Regions from separate parts of the Homo sapiens genome. Here region 1 is linked to region 2. The links are contacts of gene promoters, found by promoter capture Hi-C in blood cells and fetal thymus (Javierre and others, 2016). All regions are on one chromosome and are shown on one strand. The core of a region is centred on a gene start or on the middle of the fragment in contact, and the rest is flanking DNA. Distances in the headings are between cores, read along the strand shown. Region 1 has its middle 18 kb from the start of ENC1. Region 2 holds the start of ARHGEF28 (Rho guanine nucleotide exchange factor 28).

The links. Contacts are between HindIII fragments. The CHiCAGO score rates a contact against its expected background, and 5 or more counts as called.
Region 1: a fragment that was not itself captured here is called in contact with the fragment with the promoter of ARHGEF28 in region 2 in 1 of 17 cell types (M0 macrophages); the score reaches 5.0 in M0 macrophages.

The regions. Positions count from the first base shown.
Region 1 is chr5:74,655,118-74,662,429 of GRCh38, reverse strand. It overlaps a transcript of HEXB not described here. Among named protein-coding and RNA genes, the nearest start is that of ENC1, 18 kb to the right of the region's middle. The HindIII fragment of the contact is 461 bases long and covers 3,347-3,807 here.
Region 2 is chr5:73,623,684-73,630,399 of GRCh38, reverse strand. ARHGEF28 (Rho guanine nucleotide exchange factor 28) reads right to left here and starts at 4,204. Exons shown (of 36, transcript NM_001177693.2): 1 at 4,078-4,204. RefSeq lists a silencer at 4,406-4,495. The HindIII fragment of the contact is 6,049 bases long and covers 347-6,395 here.

The sequences.
Region 1 (7,312 bases), core at 2,328-4,827, 1.0 Mb before region 2:
ACATTTTCTAGTAGCATAATTCATTTACATTTTTGCTTAAATGACACTCACAGAGTAACTCAAAACAAAATGGGCAAAGAAGCATTTCAATTATTAGAAATAATTATGGAAATTATACTGTGCAATCATGAAAAATGACAGTAAGAGTAGCTGAATATCCTGAGAAAATATTCATGTTATAATGTTAGGTGAAAAACTTCTGAAAATAAAATTGTCTAATGAGTATTACCATGTCTGTGCACAGCACAAAGACTGAAAAAAAAAAGCTTAAAATCATGGTGGTTTTCTCTGGGGTATGGAGGATTTCTTTTTTTCTTTCTGCTTCTCTACAATGAACACATTTATTTAATGCTCAGCTAAAAGTAAGCCTATTTTTTAAATGAATGTTTGTTCTTTGAACAAAAAACATTCTGGAAAGAGTATCTATTCCTCTCGTAATCGTAGGGTTGTCATAAAGATCAAATAAGGTTGTCATGAGGACAAACAGGTCATTTTGTGAACCAGGAAGCACTTGGTATTTGGCTATATGTGGCCAGGCTGCTCAAGACTCCTGCTTAATTCAAATCTTGGAGTAAATGTACTAGGAAAACTCATTTTATGAAGAAAACCTGCAGTATGGAAAATGAACTATCCACTTAAAAAGTTATTGATCTTTCAATTTGTTTTGTAGGTTTGGAATTTTACGTATTGGATTTCCTTTAAGTAGAACTCAGTTTCAAATATAAGTCATGCAGGCCAGATGTTCTGGCTTGTACCCTTAATCCCAGCCCTTTGGGAGACTGAGGTGGGAGGATCCCTTGAGGCCAGGAGTTTGAGATCAGTCTAGGCAACATTGGCAAGATGAAAGAGAGAGAGAGAGAGAGAGACACACACACACACACACACACACACACACACACACACACACACACACACAGAGAGAGAGAAAATGAATTCATGACTTCTTTGTTGTAACACCACTGTCTTCAATCAAAAGGTCCTAAAACAATAGAAAATATTATTTAAAAAAATATGAGTCATGCTGTTCAGGACTAAAGGAGTAAAGATTTCTGAAGATAGAGGAAGACATGGGTCCCCAGCTGGCTTGCCTCCTGTTTTTCCTGATTTTCCTTTTCATTTTTGTTGATTTCACCCCATTCTCGTTCTCAGTCAGAGGATAACTCTTGATTTCAAGGACTGTGGATTTCGATTTATGTTCAGCTTCTGGAAGGCTAGGGTGATCTAACAAATGCTTATTACAGAAGCAACTGGCCTGTGCTATAGCTCTGGGCTTGTCATCCCAAAAGCCAGAGAGGCAACTTCTCAGCAGCCCCCGACGCCCACAGACATGTGGCTCACTGTGGCTCCAGCTGGTGCTGTCTGGAATGAAGGGTGAAGGCCACTCTCTCTCTCTCTCTATCTCTCTCTCTCTCTCTCTCACTGACCCATGGATTTCTTGTTGCCATGTTCCCTTTACAAGTGAGATGCTGTTATGCCCGGTGTCTTTTTCCTATATTTTTGCTTTCTCGAGTTGATCTTTTTCTTCCAGTCAATGCCTTGTCTTTCTTACTTGTCTGTAGTTGCTTCTCTGGCTTAGCTTGGTTCTTCTCGAATGGCAATTTGTGTATCCCCAGGGATCAGAGGCCTCTTTGATGAGATCTGTGAGCACTAGAACATTTTTTATGTTTTTTTTCCAGTGGTAATCAAAATATGATTTTACCAGTCATAAAGGCAACATTTTCTTAGAATATGAGTTTTGTATTGGGATTGCATTCAGCTGCTGCTAGGAAGAACAGATACAACCAAGGGTAGCTTAGGCAAACAAGTTCTAATTCTTCTCATTGACTGGGATTGGGAGCATCTGGAGTGGGAGCTGATGGCTCCATTTAGTGGCTTGATGATATTATGGCTGGTGTCCCTGTGACACTCTTGTTTTGTCCCTTATAGCTACAAGCTGGCTGCCACAGCTTCAGGCATCATGACCTATGTTTGAAGCAGGAAGAGGGAGAGAGGTGGCATCAGCCATATCAGCCTCTTTTAACAGAAAAGCAAAAATTTTCCCAGATACCTCCTAGCAGGCTTCCTTTTACATTTCTTTGTCACAAGCTGAGTCACACAGCTACTCCTCATTAAAAGGGAGGCTGGGAAATCAACTGCCTGGTAACAGGAACAGGATTGTAATCGTTGGCTTTGATCAATCACAAGTCATTATTTAGGGCTGAACATATTGTTTGGGATACAATTAGAGTTTGGCTATCAGGGAGGAATGGCTGTTGGGCATGAGATGAGTGAGCCCAGCTAAGTTGAGAGTCCCTGCACCCCACTGTCCTCCTCTTTCTTCCTTTTCCAAATGTCCCTTTATTTATTCATTTATTTTTTTTACAAAGATTAGGGTCTCTCCTCTCCCTTTGCTTCTTGCTGAGTAAAGGTGATGATGTCCTCTCTGCCTTTGTCTCCTAATCCTCTCCATTCCATCAGTTATAGACAGAGCATTTCCCCTCACCCTCCCCTTCTGCCCTTCATCCTCAAGGTGGAAAAGAACATTATTTCTACGCTAAGAGTTTGCTTTGACTTCAGAAGTATGATACTAAATTTCAGATATTTAGCAAAGTTTTAAGGTTTAAATTTCATTTATTCTCATCAAAATTCAATTTCCTGGGTTGAAGAAGAGCACTTCATGTGCAATATTAGTTTTTGCTGAAGTCCCCTAGAGTTAAGTGTTGGCTGATTGAAAAGATAAGGGAGAAAGAATTTAGCAAAATCCATGGTTTTTCCCAGAGCAGGAATGAGCTGGGCTTATTCTCCAGCTCTCACGCTTACCTTTCTTCTATTGGAGGCCCACCCCACTTTTTCTCCATATTCACATCTTCTAAGAACCTTCCCATCCTTCTTTACACCTTCTATTTTTTCTTTCTACTTTCATGTCTGCTGCTAACTGACTCATATTTCACTACCCTGCAATAACTTTGAGTTTAGAATCACCTGTGGCTTCCCCGCTATCATTTTTGTAATTTCCCTGAGACAGACAAGTGGCCTTGTCTCCTCCAGGATCAGCCCTCCACCTGCCCTGCACTGGGGATTGTGTGCTGTCCAGCGTGTTTCAAGCTTAATGTGCTCCTGGCCCTGACCATGGTCTATTGGGCAGACTAAGAAATCAGGCACTGCATGTTCTGTTCTTAGTTTTGCCATGAACGCTGTGAGGTCTCAGGCAGGTGACTTATGGTGAAAAATTTATACATCTCTGGGAAATAATTTCAAAATTCAGTATTCTCAAAGTATGTTGGGATTACTGATGCAAATATCATATAAGTACCAAAGACAAGTTTTTTTTTTCCAGTTTTAAAAGTCTCTTTTTCCCACAAAAGCTTTTAAATGTGATATAAAGATATATTAAAATGAAAGTTAAATGCAAGGAGAAAGCTACATATTGTACTGAATTGAAACATATTGGAGCAGAAGCTCCAGTCTTCTCATGGTGTGGGGATATACCCACAGTTAGCCAAACTGTGAGGCTCAAGGACATAGTACCTAAGATTGGCCTTACTTCTGACACCAACTGCAAGTTTAGAGGGTGGGTTCCCTAAATCATTCTCAGATTTGAGAATTCACTAGAAGGACTTCAGAACCCACCAAAAGCTATTATGCTCCTAGTTATCGCAGGAAAAGGATACAGATTAGGATACAGATTAAAATCAGCCAAAGGAAGAGATGCATAGGGCAGAGTTTAGGAAGGTTCCAAAAGTGAATCTTCTGTCATTCCTAGGACACATTATTTCCCTGGTACCCAAGAGTGATAATACATAAGGGATATTACCACCCAGGGAAGCTTACTTGAGCCTCAGTGTTCAGGAGTTTTATTGCGGCCCCGAGACATATGCATGACTGATTGATTGATTGATTGCCCACCTAGCTGATCTTAGCCTCTAGGTCAACTGATACCATGTGACCCAAAGCCTCTACTCTCAGTTACATAAATGGCCTCTCTGGTGTGACTGGCTCCATCCTAAGATCTGGTGGGTCCAGGCCCTGCCCTAAACAAAGAAAGCAGCTCAGGGCAAAGGCTGACCTGTCTTTGGGCAAGGCGAAATTCTTTACCATGCAGAATGCTTTGCTTTTTAGTTATTATTGACATCTGTGGTGGTGCTTCTGGGAGAGTGCTCAGTAAGAGAGGCCATCAGGGACATTCTGGAGGAGGAAATGTGTTCATGGGTGCCAGCCTTCAAATGCAGTTGCTTTGAGGCCCATTTTCCTTCTCACCAGGAATGCCCTCCTAATGCTGGGAGGCACATGTGCTGAAGCCCTCAGTGCTGCTAGTTCCCAAAGCTCACAGACATCAGACGTGCTGGCAAGGCAAGGGCTCTGGGGCCTTCAGTATTTCAAGATGCCAGTACCCTAGGGATTCACAGGCAGTAGACATTTCTGGAAGCTGATGACCTGCCATCAACTAGGTCACAGTCTGTGAACACTTGCACTGGAGATTCTTGGGAGCAAAGGCTTAGGGGATTCAAAGAGACCAAGTAGCTTGAATCGGAAAGTGGACTGAAAAACCCGGACTTCATATACAACAAAAGCGTAACATAGGCTGTTATATACAACAAAAGGGTAACATAGGCTGAGATCAGAAGACGCCACATGACATGTGAGGCACAGAGGCCACAACAGCAGCAAAAGGAGCATCTAGGACACAGAGATCTTTAGAAACCATGTGACTACACAAATAACAAGCGTCAAGTGTTCAAAGGAAAACACATTCTTATTTAAGGGTTTATTAGCTTTCTAATAAAATTTTGATGAATAGCTAACTCTCCATTCATTTTATTTAACAAATATTTTTTGTGCATGAGGAATCAGCCGAGAGCAAAATAGACAAAGTTCTTCCCCATGTGGAGCTTGCTTCCTTGTGGGAGTTGTAAATAATAAATAAACAGACATTGTGAAGTGGTGATAAGTGCTCCGAAGGAAAATCCAGCAGGGTGAAGGGATGGAGAGCAAGGAGGTTGCTATTTTAGACCAGGAGCTCAGGGACAGGCTCGCTAATAGGAGTTATCTGAGCAGAGAGTTGAATGAAAGGAAAGACCTGGTCACTTGGTTATTTATGGTAAAAGTTCCAGGCAGAAGAACAGTAAGTGCCAGTGTCCTGAGGCTGGAGAGTGGTGGGTATCTGGGGACAAACAGGGCAGCCAGTGTGGCTGGAACAGAGATGAGACTGGATAAGTAGGGCCTTGTGGCTCATGGAAAGGAGATGGAAGCCACTGGAGGGTATAAAGTGTACATTTATCAGGGACAACAAAAATTCACACACACGACCCCTCCCCACCAACAGTCTGGGAGGTTCTGTGTTGCCTCCTGTTCTTGTCGCTGTGTTGACCAGGGGTGACTGTGGAAGAGCCTTAGAGGGAGCTGAGAGGCTAAAGGGTTCCTATCAGAAAGGTTATGGAGTGACTGTGGAAAGCAATGGAATCCAGAGGGCACAGCCAACGAAGCAGCAGCAAGGGGGGCTGTTACTGAGATGAGAGAGACTTTGGAAAAAGGTTTTAGAGGCTGGACGTGGTGGCTCACACCTGTAATCCCAACATTTTGGAAGGCTGAGGCGGGTGGATCACCTGAGGCCAGGAGTTCAAGACCAGCCTGGGCAACATGGTGAAACCCCGTCTCCACTAAAAATACAATAATTAGCTGGGTGTGGTGGCATGTGCCTGTAATCCCAGCTCCTCAGGAGGCTGAGGCAGGAGAATTGCTTGAACCTTGAACCCAGGAGGTGGAAGTTGCAGTGAGCCAAGATCATGCCACTGCACTACAGCCTGGGCGAAAGAGGGAGACTCCATCTCAAAACAAAAAGATTTTAGAACGTTCCACTCTGTGTCATGCAATGTGTGCAATGTGGTTCCTCATCTGCTTCTCCTGACTTTTATTTTATTTTATTTTATTTTATTTTATTTTATTTTATTTTATTTTATTTTATTTTATTTTTTGAGACAGAGTCTCACTCTGTCATCCAGGCTTCAGTGCAGTGGTGTGATCTCAGCTCATTGCAACCTGTGCCTCCCGGGTTCAAGTGATTCTCTTGCCTCAGCCTCCTGAGTAGCTGGGATTACAGGTGCCCACCACCACACCCAGCTAATTTCTGTATTTTTAGTAGAGACGGAGTTTCACCATGTTGGCCAGGCTGGTCTCGAACTGCTGACCTCAAGTGATCCACGCTGCTGACCTCAAGTGATCCACCCGGCTAGGCCTCCCCAAGTGCTGGGGTTACAGGTGTGAGCCACTGTGCCCGGCCTCCAAGGGACTTCTTACATTAAGTTGCAAGGCTTTTTTGGAGTTGGAGTCATGATTCTTTTGGACACAATGCTCAGCTGAGACCAACCCCAAGGTGGCCCAGCTTTATTCAGGATTCATTTTTGTTTACAAAGTCCATGAAATGATTGATGAACTAGCTACTTAATAGCCTTTTCTAGTCAATTCTAAATATTTTCCTTTTCCTTGAAGAATTATGTCACTTCAGAATATTTATGTGACTGTCATCATGCAACAGGTAATCTCAGTAGGAATCTCAAATTTGCTACTGACAGCTGTATTATCTCAGGCATGTCACTTGATCATTCCAAGTGCCAGTATTCTTACCTATAAATGGAGATAATTTTTTCTAAAATTCTATTCAGAATTTTTGAGGATAAAAAGATATTGTGTATGTAAAAAGTAATGCAAATGACAATCATTATTTTAACTGATTTCTTTTAATTAGCAATTTGGAGAGTAACATGCTCACTAAATATATGTGGAGAAAATTCAAGAAATAATTAAAATGAATGATTCTGAGGCCAGGAGCGGTGGCTCATGGCTCTAATCTCAGCACTTGGGAGGCTGAGGCAGGCGGATCACTTGAGGTCAGGAGTTTGACACCAGCCTGGCCAACGTGCTGAAATCCTGTCTCTACTAAAAATACATTTAAAAAAACAAACAAAAAAACAAACTTAGCTGGGCATTGTGGTGCAGGCCTGTAATCTCACCTACTCAGGAAGTTGAGGCAGAAGAATCACATGAATCTGGTATATGGAGGTTGCAGTGGCGAGATCGTGCCACTGCTCTCCATCCTGGGTGACAGAGCGAGATCCTGTCTCAAAAAAAAAAAAAAAAAAAAGTTTAATGCTTGAAGGGTTATTATCTCCATGTTTGTCCAGGTATTGGTTAGAACATTCTTAAAAGCTTGATGTTCTTATCGCTGCCCTTTTTAGTGCCTGTTATGAACAACCATGTCATTTTCTATCCCTTTCTTAACAGATACCTGGTGCAGTTGCTGATGAGAAGGGGCACTCAAAACCAAGGAGAAACTAGT
Region 2 (6,716 bases), core at 2,955-5,454:
AGGTAGAGAGAGGTCACATAGCCAGGGCAAAGTTGGGGCTATTTAACCCAGACAGTCTGGCTCCAAAGTCCACATTCTAACCCCCTTCATGAGAGTTTATGAAATATAATTTCTTGAATTATAAAATGATGGAAGAAAAGGAGTAAGTCTTAAACAGAAAGGGCATGGTCACTAGTGTTTGATAATGAATTGAAAAGCTAAACCATAAATGTCATTAATATATACAATATACGCTTCATCTATTTATTAAGGGAATGTCTATTATATATATTTGAAGCATATTAACATTTCAAGTGTATATTTTTTAAAGGCACAATGATCATGTGCACAGCAGTCACACAAAGCTTGCCACTAGAAATAGGCAGAATGCTATTTGCCTGCTGGCTTTGGAAAGGTCTCTTCTGAACAGGCTACTATGGAGAGCAAAGCCACCACTGCTGATTTCTGCCTGTTGGTCCTCACTCATAGACACATTTTCATCTGCTCTTAAGAGAACATCGCTTGTATGTTAACTTTCTACAGAAATCAGACCTCGAGTTATTTATAATTGAGGGAAAGATTAAACTAAAACAAGAGAAAACACCTCTGAAAATTAAAATACATTTTTATACAAGTGTTCAAAACCAGTATCACTGGAACAAATGCCCACTATTCAATTATATACTTTTTTACTTTCTCTCATTAAAAAATGATGTCAGATCTCATTATCTTGGTTATCCAGGAGAAGAAGTCCAGGAGCAATAATGTTACAAATAAGCAAATTACTATTGTGCCTGAGATCAAATTTCAAGGGAAAAATGGAAGTCAATTAAGAAGATGCACTATCACATTAAAAAAATAAGTTACATGACTTATTTTGCCAGTCAAATGTCTTTAATTTTTTTTTTTTTTTGAGACAGAGTCTTTTTCTGTCACCCAGACTGGAAATGTGGTGGCACCATCTCAGCTCACTGCAGCCTCTACTTCCCCAACTCAAGCTATCCTCCCCACTCTGCCTCTCAAGTAGCTGGGACTATAGGCACACACCACACACCACCATGCCTGGCTAGTTTTTGTATTTTTTTTGTAGAGACAGGGTTTTGCCATGTTGCCCAGGCTGGTCTTGAACTCCTGGGCTCAAGCAATCCTCCCACTTCAGCCTCTCAAAGTGTTGGGGTTATGTGCATGAGCCACCACCCCCACCCTGGCCAGCCAAATGTCTTAATGTGGAGTGTGCAAAAGTCTACTCCGAAAATGCAACAGACCCTAAAAACTCTAAAGCCAGAAAAGTGTCACCTTCAACACGGAATCCAAAGATCAGAGAATCAAAGCAAAGAGCAGTGCTGGGCACATAGTAAGACTTCAACAAATATTAGTTGAATGAATGTAAATGAAGAACATGTTCATAGAAAGAGAGCCCCATAATAGAGATTGTCAAAATGGCAAAATAGTAGAGTGACACTGCCTTGGGCTTCCGAGAACTTCCAATACCATGATAATAACAAAAGAACTAAGGGTCACAGAGACTGGACAAAATGGCAGAGTATCATACAAATGGAGCAAAATGCTCTGTGATACAGGACCTGACCTACACTTCTTAAGCAAGAAAAATATCTCAAAGCCCAGCTTTGCCTAAGTAGAGATGTGGACTCAAGTCTGACAGGGTGGCATATTTACAGCACAACTTTAGCATGGCAGAATTCCCTGAATTTGGTGCACTTCAAATGTAACACTGTTTTTACATCCTCAGTAGGAGTTGCCCAGGTTGACCCACCTCTTCATAACAAATCTTATTTAAGGTTATGGGCGGGGGCCGGTGGGGGGATCCCAGAGCTACTCTGCTTCACTAAAAGCAACATAAATACAAATGCAATTACACAAAACCTACACAAACCAGATCTGTCATATCTGATTAGTAAATAAAAGCATAATAAAATTATAGTCAGCCTAGGTAATTTAGGCTCTGTTCAGTACCATCCTAGCCATGCCCAAGTGGTGAGGCTTTTCCAACATTTATATCATGAATCTTTTTTTCTTGGAATTCAGTCCTTGGTCATAAACTGGCAGGACTTGTTGGAGCTTGGGTACCAATATAGTGGTGTACAGAATGTTTAATATAGAAGTAATAGTATATGCTGCAATTTGTTTTAATACCTACTTAGAACACATAGTCTTTTCTCACGGGGCATACTAAAGGAGGTCATGTATCAGAGCTCACCTGAAATTCCTGCCCAATTTAAGTCTTAGCCACAAGTGTAGTTTCTTATAAGAACACAATAAGAAAACATTCCAAACTCTTCTGCAGTACTCACATAATTAAAAAAAAAAAGTATGAAACCCACCCAAGTGAGGCTTCTGAGACATTTCATAGAAACTTAGTTATTAACTACTATTTTTCTTCTTTACCTTTAAGTGTTTATAAACTGCTTAAAGGACAGTTGGGTACTTCAGAGGAAAGTCTAATGACACGCCTGCTATACAACCTGTTCTTAGTTGGCCAGATTGTGTGGTTTTGATAAGGAAAAAAAAAAAGTCAAAAGCAGGACAAACACTGATTCTCTGTTCTCCATTCTCCCATTACCCAAGACATTCATCTGAGTCACACACTCTATAGCTAGCTCTGAGCCTCAGTTTCCCTAACCATTAGCTATAAGATCTGATGCTAGCCAAATTCCTATTTGATCAAAGTTAATCAGCCCAATAATCACATATAGAGTCCACATCAGAACATTACATTGAAATACTATGTTGTATTAAAAATTCCAAAGGGTTTTGCCATATTCATCTCTTTTCTGCAAATACTCCAAAGGGGTTACTTTGGCTATTAATCAAGATTAGGCAAATACCCATGTGCTTTAGGAATGTGTAACTAAAAACCCAGGACAGATCTAGAGAAACCTTCCCAGGTTTCCCAGAAGTCATCACTACGCTTGGATTGTCATGTACAAAGTAGATGCCACAGAACCTAACAAGGGTAGGTCCTTGATTTGTTTTTGCAGTGAAAACAGGATTTCACTTACACCTGACAGCTTCAGGGCCTAGGAACACAAGATAACAACGCTTCAGAAAGCCAGGGGCCCCATGGAACCCCAAATGATCAGTTCTTTATAAACGAAAATTAAAGATCTTACTTTCTTTGGATTTTGCCCAATTGGTGTGGTCCGTGGTGAACCTCTATAACTCCTGGTGTGAGGAGATGTGTGGATACCCAGGCAGGGGTCAAGGCGGGAGAAGCCGCACAAACACAGATGTTGCCACTGTTCCTCGGCCCACCCAGCCAACCAATGCGGGGACGCTGTGGGCCTATAGAGATGGATTCTTTCTTAGAAATCTAACTGGTCTCTGGGAAACCAAAGCTGGGTATCCAGGGCCGCCTGAGCACCCAGTTTCCATACAGCCCTCGACCCAAATGGTGCTTTCTTGGCCAAACACCGGCCTGTCATTCGGAAAACCTAAGCACGGGAAGGCTGGGGCACCACCACATACACCCCGGGTATTTAAGGGGAAACAAATCCATAAAATAAGCGTAAGGAGTCCCACATAATTCTGACCACCTTTCCCAACCAAGGTAACCATAAATGCCTTTTGAAACACAGCAGATGCTTCCACACGAGTAAGTGGTAGTGCGTGTGTCCTGAGCTTGCGTTCCGTCTGCATTCTGCGGTCCTGGCCCTGCCAAGCACCCTCAGTCCCGGAGCTGAAGCATGGATGGGAAGGGCGGACACCAACTCTCGACGTTCTCCCTTCTCCACCGCAGGAGTGCTGTTTATTTCCCTGTCTCCCGAAGGACACTGGCGGGGCTTTCACCCGCCCAGCCCCCGGCTCTCAGTGCGCCCGAGCGACCCCGCGCTCCGCAGCTGCCGCCGCCGCACGAGGCTGCGCCGCCCTCTCCACTTGTTGCCGCTCCCGAGGGAGCGGGAGGCGGCGCCCAGCCCTCGCGCCGCAGCGCCTGCAGCGGTTCCCCGGTCACCTCTGCTGACCCTCGCATCCCTGGGGACCCTGGAGAAAGTGGCCCTGCGGATGCGAACTCAGGTGGACAAACTTTTCCGCCCAGAGCTGCAGGGAAACGCAGACGATGGAGTCCCAAAGAGCATTTACCTGGAGCGATGGCCCCGCAGCCTCCAGAACCCAGGCGAGGCTCTGCCCCCGCGCCCTGCCTGAGGGCGCCTCGGAACGCGCCCCCAGCCAGCCGCCGCCCGGAGTCCGGAAGGCTCTCCCCGGCGATGCCAACGCCTGGCGGCGGCCGGGCTGAAGCCAAGGTTTAGGGGGTGGAGCCGCGGCCGCGCGCCCGGGCCCGGCTGGCTGCGCCAGCAGCGGGTGCCGCCCCCGCTCCCCCCGCTCCCCCCGCGCCTCCCCGCTGCCACTGGATCCCCGCCTGCCCACCTCCCGGCCCGGCTCGCGGCGGCCGCATCACATGGCGAGGCCCGCCCGCCGGCCGCGCCCGACACCGGCTCCAGGAGGAAACCTGAAGCTGCCCCTACCGCGCTGTCTCCGCCAGCCCCCTCCCGCTGCGGGGCTGCGGCCGTTGGCCTCCGGAGATCGGAGGCGCGGAGGCTGGCGCGGACCTGGCGGGCCACAGGAGTGCCAGTTGCGCCCCGGGCGCCCCCACGCCTTGGCGCCTCCCGAGGGAGGCGCTGGGCTGCCCGCTCGCGAAAGGAGTTGTGCCAGGCCCGAGGGAGGCTCAGGCTGTTCCCAGCCAAAAGCCACCACACCCGTGACATAATACGGCCCGGGTCTATTACAATAGGAAATATTATTTTTAAAAACAGCATTTGCCCTCTTATTTGAAGCTCATGTTCCCTGGCCGAGAGCTTTGCAAGCTGCGATTCCCTTCACGTTTATGCACGCAAGTGGCTGCAAGTCTTAATTCAAAAACGTATGAAAACCATAACCACTTTTACAATGAACAGCAATGTGAAGGGACTTCCTTATCCTCCAAAGCAGTTTTCCTCTTAGATGTGATGACAGCCCCAAGAGCAGAAGCCAAGCCTCTTCATCAGCCAGGCTCTCATATACAGACTTAAGACCATTATTGCAGCTTTAAAGGTAAAATTGCCCATCTGAGACTGCTGTGGCAGTAAGTGTTATAGTTAAGACTATTTGTAAGGAAATTAGTATTGAAATATAAAGTTTCTAATAAAATTTATAAAATCACCTTGAGTCTCTGCTTTGTTTTTCCTTTGAAGACTGGCTACGCACAGAACCATAACAAAGGTGTGGCCCGAGGAAGCTGGCCACCAAGATCCCAAGCCAGAATGGAGCCCAGCTCCCAGGCTGCCACCACCACTTCTCCTGGGCCTGGGCCTTTTCTGTCTCCCTTCCAGCCGCCACCTTCCCCAGCCCACCTTGCTGATACGAATGCTGAGAAAGGCTGAGATTAGCAAGAGAAAGACCATCGTGTGTCTGAATGCCTTAGCCCTGTTCCAAGGCAAAGGCTGCAATTCCGCCTTGGGAAAGGGACCCCAACACTGGCATTGCACTCCTGACCTGGGCTGTCATCCCAGCTGATTCCACCCTCAGCCCCACAGAGCTGTGAACTCAAGGCCTGGCCTCAGGCGCTGCCACAAAAAAAAAAAAAGAAAAAAAAAATATATATATATATCCTGCCCAGTGTCAAGGTACACAAGATAAAAATAAAAGCAATAATATTCTTTTCAAAAATAGAAAAAATTTTGAGCAGGGCGTGGTGGCTCACACCTGTAATCCCAGCACTTTGGGAGGCTGAGGCGGGTGGATCACCTGAGGTCAGGAGCTCGAGACCAGCCTGGACAACATGGTGAAACCCCGTCTCCACAAAAACACACAATTTAGCTGGGTGTGTTGGTGCGTGCCTGTAATCCCAGCTACTCGAGAGGCTGAGGCAGGAGAATCACTTGAACTGAAGATTAACTGAATCAACATGCCAGACAAAAATGGTTTCCAAACTCTGGTGAATAAACATGGTGATGTGTTAGAAGCCTTTGTTGTTATTGTCCTTTTTCATATCACTAGTACTGAAGCCCTCTTTTTCTTTTTTTTTTTTTTTTAATTCTGGCAGGTATGTATCTTTTTTTAAAAAACAAAAAAATGTGGAAAGAGGAACAAATATTATAAGAAGTTACCCCCAAGCCCCTTCCCCACTAAAAAGAAACCAGCAAAACTAGTAATTGTGAAACTCTCACCACCCAAGGACATACAATGCTAGCTGCAGTTTTCTTGCCTGCTCTCAAGCCCTGAGCTTGATCAATATTTAAATACGTACTTGGCTTTCAACTTCTCTAGGTTCAAATATTAAGCAAAGTGTTTGCTTCAGCAACCTTAAAAGAAGCCGTGACTATCTGAGGCAGGAAGCTATCAGTTGTGTAAATAACCCTTTGCACCTGATTGATTTCACTGCTCCAGATATAGGTCACTCAGGACATTGCTGGCACTAAGCTTGGCTGGGACAGCATTTGTTTTGAATTCAAAGACTATATATTCTCTACAGACAAGGGACATTCAGCCAGCAAGAAACCAGGCTGGCCATTCAGTTAGGGAAATTCTAACTGCCTAGTGAGTATTATGCCAATGTCCTAGCTCAGCTCTGTCTTTTCTAGAGATTCAATCCCCATTCATCCTTACATACTTCACTCCAGATAGACCTCCTCCATAAATCCTTACATTGTCCTGGTTTCTGCTACCCTCTGAATTTTGGCAAAGCATAATGGCCTTACTACACAGTGTAGCACCTGATTATATTAACTGTCACATGTTGGACA